Linked DNA regions of Homo sapiens: region 1 is linked to region 2. The links are contacts of gene promoters, found by promoter capture Hi-C in human tissues and cell types (Jung and others, 2019). All regions are on one chromosome and are shown on one strand. Each heading gives the region's core, a stretch centred on a gene start or on the middle of the fragment in contact. The rest is flanking DNA. Distances are from core to core; before and after follow the strand shown. Region 1 overlaps HMCN1 (hemicentin 1). Region 2 holds the start of HMCN1 (hemicentin 1).

What was found. The method cuts DNA at HindIII sites, captures the fragments that hold promoters and counts their contacts. A contact is called where the count stands out against the background at its distance.
Region 1: a fragment that was not itself captured here is called in contact with the fragment with the promoter of HMCN1 in region 2 in 1 of the 25 tissues and cell types used here (mesenchymal stem cells).

The regions. Positions count from the first base shown.
Region 1 is chr1:186,114,235-186,117,371 of GRCh38, forward strand. It overlaps HMCN1 (hemicentin 1), which reads left to right. Exons shown (of 107, transcript NM_031935.3): 74 at 585-712; 75 at 1,024-1,180; 76 at 2,760-2,881. Among named protein-coding and RNA genes, the nearest start is that of PRG4, 180 kb to the right of the region's middle. The HindIII fragment of the contact is 5,610 bases long and covers 1-3,137 here.
Region 2 is chr1:185,732,739-185,735,660 of GRCh38, forward strand. It overlaps HMCN1 (hemicentin 1), which reads left to right and starts at 1,653. Exons shown (of 107, transcript NM_031935.3): 1 at 1,653-2,309. The coding sequence starts at 2,042. The HindIII fragment of the contact is 9,057 bases long and covers 1-2,922 here.

The DNA.
Region 1 (3,137 bases), core at 414-2,913, 380 kb after region 2:
TTAATACGAGAATCAAAATTTAGTATTTTATTATTTTTCTGAGACAGAGTCTTGCTCTGTTGCCCAGGCTGGAGTGCAGTGGCATGATCTTGGCTCATTGCAACCTCCACCTCCTGGGTTCAATTGATTCTCCTGCCTCAGCCTCCCAAGTAAGCTGAGATTAAAGACGCACGCCAGCACGCCCAGCTAATTTTTTGTATTTTTAGTAGAGATGGGGTTTCACCAGGTTGGCCAGGCTGGTCTCGAACTCCTGACCTCAGGTGATCCGCCCACCTCAGCCTTCCACAGTGCTGGGATTACAGCCTTGAGCCTTCACTCCAGGCCCAAATTTAGTATTTTAAAAGCATAATCCCTAAGGCTTATGTCTACATAATGATTATAATCCATTAAAGATCACAAGCCCATCTGTTATGCACCTTTGCATCGTAGCCTTTTCTTCCACCAAGGGTATCATAAACATGTGTCATCTGAAACAGGAAAAATACTGAATGGATTTCACCAAGTGTTTAACATTTCCCTCAGTCAAAATATGAACAATCAAAAAAGGCTGATTCAGAAGACTTCACTTGTGATTTCTCTTGTAGATATTCCATCTTGGAAAATGGATTCCTTCATATTCAATCAGCACATGTCACTGACACTGGACGGTATTTGTGTATGGCCACCAATGCTGCTGGAACAGATCGCAGGCGAATAGATTTACAGGTCCATGGTAAATATCCGTTTATAGACAACATCCGGTCTCTGTGTCAAATGCTCTTTGATTGCCTAAACTAGTGAGGTCATAAAGATCTTGACATTGAAGGCTAGTTAAGCAATTTACATTATGGTATGAATAGCAAGCCCCAAGTTTTCTCCTTAGTATAGTTAATATCATCACAGCACTATTAAAATTTGCAGAGTCTTGTTTGCTCATAACTATGAGGCAAGTTAATAATGACTAATTTCAGTTCAGCAGAAATATTTCAAATGGCACGCTATTTGCTGACTGTGTTTCCTTCTTATTTGGTGACATTGTCTTAGTTCCTCCATCTATTGCTCCGGGTCCTACCAACATGACTGTAATAGTAAATGTTCAAACTACTCTGGCTTGTGAGGCTACTGGGATACCAAAACCATCAATCAATTGGAGAAAAAATGGGCATCTTCTTAATGTGGATCAAAATCAGAACTCATACAGGTAAGGATAATTTAAAACTCCTACCAACTATTTACAAACAGTTTGTAATGAATCAACATTTTAATTCTATCAGTGGGGTCAGCAAATATATAGACTATAACAAATTAGCTAGCATATAGAGGGTTTTTTTCCTTAATATGGACTTAGTTTTTCAGCCTAAAATATTTTTCTGAATTATAGGTCATCTTTTCCATACATAAACCCTGTGGATGAATGTCAGTGATTATATATAGGATTAGATTTATATCCTGCCTTATTTGTTTAGTACCTTTTGGACTTTTATAAAGGCAAAGGATAAAAACATCATTTTATATAAAAGAAAAACTATTCTGTAAAAATAAATACGATCTTTAGTTGTAGAATAAAAGTCAAATTTTATACCTTAAAATACAATTTAGATATTGGCAGAATGTGTAGGGAGGAAAAACAGCATTTTCTCCATTTTTTTTTTTTGCTTTTTTCCAAGCTTTAATACCATAGCTCATAATATGGCAATATCTATTTTTCAAAGGCTAAACTTTAAATCACTAAGAATTTCTGATGTTATAGGTGAGCATCATTTTTTGTATCTCACCTGAGCTATCAGATTATTACTCTGTCAAACATTTGCCATAGCGCTAAAAATAAATGCTCTCTTATGTCCACTTTAACAAAAATCAATTCCAATACATCAGGAAATATAAAACTAGGAGTGCTGCAGTTGAAATTCTATCATGTCTCTTTTTCACCCTTTTAATCTTTTGGCATTGGGAGGTTCAGTGACTTGAAAGTATACACTGTATGGAAAATGTGCCATGCTTTTGAATTAAAAGGTGTGTCAAATATGTTTTATTAATGTTTTTTATTAAATCATTTCTATCATGCACAGTGTGAAATCAAATAGATATTCTAATTTAGATTTACTTTAAATCATGTATGTGTATTTACTAAACCTCCTAAAATGTGAAGTGTTCTAGATTTTAGTTTTGAATATATATACACACATACACACACTTGTTCAAAACTAAATATATATATATATACTTTTTTTGAAATAGATATTGCCATATTATCTACAAGGTAGCCACACATTTAAGGAGACATGCAAAGTACATAAAGGGGTGAGACACACAGACTTGTCATTAGCCATCTGTCAATGGAAATAAACAAATATCAACCTGCTAGGTTATTGTGAAATTTAAAGATAATTTATGCAAAGCATTTAAGATGGTGCCTGGAGTGTATCTGATGCCCAGTAAACAGTGGCTGTTATCAGTGTTCTCATTGTACTGTATTTCTCCTAGGAGAGCCAGGTTGATCATAATATAAGCATTTAGAGAATGTAAGATTCCCTCTTCAGACAATCCTTCCCACAATTACTTCCTGTAAATATTATATCAAGTTTGAGGCTCTAGAAAGCCACTGCCATACAAACATAAACTCTAATGCATAAAGTTGGCCTCAGGGACATGATGTTAATTTTAACATGAGGGAAGAGTACTGTTTTCATCAATTTACAACATGGTACCATGTTAAACTAGCTGGGAAAATTTATGAAAACCTACATATAGTATCTCATGCTTTGAAATGTGTCTTCTAGGCTCCTTTCTTCAGGTTCACTAGTAATTATTTCCCCTTCTGTGGATGACACTGCAACCTATGAATGTACTGTGACAAACGGTGCTGGAGATGATAAAAGAACTGTGGATCTCACTGTCCAAGGTAGAATTGGCTTGGAACATGGATTGAAACATGATAATGCTATCACTTCGTTATTCTACTACTTTACAAAAGGGATCCCTTTTCTTTTTTTTTTTAAACATTTATTTTAAGTTCAGGGGTACACATGCAGGTTCGTTATATGGGTAAACTAGTGTCATGGGGGTTTGTTGTACAAATTACTTCATCACCCAGGTATTAACCCAGAAATAAAAGGAGGAATCCCTTTTCTACTTACCTAACTTTCACTTTCAGAGCA
Region 2 (2,922 bases), core at 403-2,902:
ATTCCACCCAACAGCATTCTTTTCAAGTGCACATGGAACATTTATAGATCATTTAATCCTTATTAGGTGGGTGCTATCATTATTCCCATTTACAGCTGAGTAAACACAGGTCTGAAAAAGTTTGGTAACCTTCTTGAAGGTCACACAGTTAAATGTCACAGCTGGGCTTTCAACCCAGGGTATCTGACCCAGAACTCTTAATCACTAGGCTCTGTGGCCTCCCTTGAGCACCTGGAATAGCTCAGGTCTCTAAGACTTAGAATGAAATCCTTTTTAAATAAACAACGGAATGGGAGACTCAAATAGCATTCTCTAAATACTGCTTGAGAAGGAAGTACCTTCCCCCTTTCCTCTCATATTCCCACTCAGCCCAAATGGCCTGTCTGCTTCCTTTAAGTGACATGACTTATAGGTATCATAAACTCGGGTTCCACAGCCGCTGGGACTGAAAGAGAAGACAGTTGTAGATTACAAAAGGTTGGTGGGAGCTAACTCTTCCTCAGGCTGCATCTCCGTTGGGTGGGCGGTCTAATATACATCCAAACAGAGATCAAGATGCCTGTTTGCCCCTCTTTAAATGCTGGGATCTGGACAACAACTCCTTTTCCAGGAAGGAAATGCGTTTTTATTAAAATGACATAAAGAATCCTTAGTTCATGGTAGACTTTCTTTGCTTATCCTCTTATCTCTGTTATTAGTACTATAACGTATATAGCAATCACAACACGGAAAAACGTTGGCATGTCTTCCAGGGTGAGGTTTCCTTCTTGACTGGCAAGAAAATGCCATAGAGGGGAGCACCTTTCCAATAGATCTTTGGCTGAGACCTGAGGCATGACTGTTCCAGGGGAGGAAATCTGAAACGGGGATATTATTCTGCCTTACTATGCTGAGCGTAGGATTCAAACTGCTCAGCAAATGTGAATCTTGATAATACAATTAAAAAATCAATTTTCTCTTTAATATGAATTTTATGTCTCATCTTTCCCCACACCTCTCTCGCCCCTCCTCCTTGTCCTTTCTACGGGGCTTCCATCCTGTATTCACATTCCCCTCTACAGTTAGTGACTACCTAGTTCTTGTCTCTCATTTCCCTCAGCAGCCCCTTTCCTCTTCCTGGGCTTCTTGCCCCTTCAGCGTTGTCCTCCCTTCCTTCCCTGCAGTCCAGAGTCTCAGAGGAGATCAAAGAGCGATAGTGTGGCTGCCTCGCAGCTGAGAGAATTTTCCAGCTCCCCCTCCTGGCTGGGCCGAGTTGTGGGCTGAGAGGCAGGAGGCTGGGCTGGGGCGTCTTGACTTTTGGGGGGAATTAGGAAAGAGGTGTCTAAAGCCGCGTTGTACACAATAGAAAAACAAAATTCCCTTTGTGCTAGTGTGGTGTCCCTCGGTTTGGGTCTTTGCCACACATTCTTGAAAGCCATTGTTTACACTAGCGTTTTGCAGGTTAGGAACGGTGCCGGTGGGAACCGAGCTGACACCGTAAGCGCTTCCCTGGGACTGAATTGACCCTACAATCAGTGGAGGGAAAAGTCACCCTCCGGGGGGGCCTCCAGAGCAAAGGAGGGAGGACGGCAACTGGCCAATCAGGAGGCGAGGCCGAGCCAGGCTTCCCCTCGTCGCTCGTGAGCTGCAAACAGTGGAAAGTTGGGAACCTCAGTCGCTGGCCCAGGCGGAGAGCAGCGGCGGCGGCGAGGGCAGCGGGATTCGGGCCGCGGCGCCGCAGGCTCAGAGCTGCCCCCGGGGCATGGACCCGACGCGCCGCCCGCACTCCGCCACAGGCTGTCCAGGGCCCGCGGGCAGATAGCAGTCCAGGAGGAAGCCGCATCCAGACAAAAGCTGCCGCATCCCTGCCCTGCCCAACCCCTGGAGGGATTCGAGTTTGGTGCTTGTCCCCGTCTGATTCTCAGCGCCAAACTTTTTGCTAGTTCAGAGATTCCAAGAGTCTGATGAGTTACTCTGAGAGGAAACCCTCTGCCTGTTGTTGAGGAGGACTGAGCACAGTGCTTAGGCGCTGAGGGGGAAAAAGAGGGGGAAAAAAAAGAAAATGATTTCCTGGGAAGTTGTCCATACAGTATTCCTGTTTGCTCTTCTTTATTCTTCCCTAGCTCAAGATGCGAGCCCCCAGTCAGAGATCAGAGCTGAGGAAATTCCCGAGGGGGCCTCCACGTTGGCTTTTGTGTTTGATGTGACTGGTTCTATGTATGATGATTTAGTTCAGGTGATTGAAGGGGCTTCCAAAATTTTGGAGACGTCTTTGAAAAGACCTAAAAGACCTCTTTTCAACTTTGCGTTGGTGCCTTTCCATGATCCAGGTAAGGGAAATATTTATACTTTGTCTTTGCTATGTCTCATGATTACATTATTTCTCATGCTGTGAATGAAATTGTTTGTCAGGAAGTTTCAAAACCATTTTAAAAAAATGTGCAGCTGAAAATAGTTGTAACAAAGAATTACTTGCTGGCGTCTGGGTTTGCTCATTGATACCTACTTAAGTCTCAGCCCTGGTGGAGATGGCTTGTTTAGGGAACTTGTACTGTGGTCCTCAAACCTGGAAATGTGGAGTTACGAAAAACAAAACCAAAAATCTTGGGCAACGACATCAAAATCACTTAACTCACTTAGATTTTAGAACTAAAGCATGTTTAATTACGAAGGCAGACTTGGACACGAATTTATAGCAGCGAAGCTCTAGGGGCTAACATCCAGATTGAAAGCACACTCTGAGGGTAACTCTCATTTAAGAGGGGAAAAAACCTGTTGTGTGAGACACAAGGAAGCCTGTAAGTAGTAACTACTAGTGGAACTGAAGACATGAAAAGAAAAGAGAGAAACCAATCATTTCTTAACTGAATCTATTCATCTTTGCACCAGGGCATCATTAGATAGGTTCACAGATGGGTATAAACATTACATCCATGTCTCCTG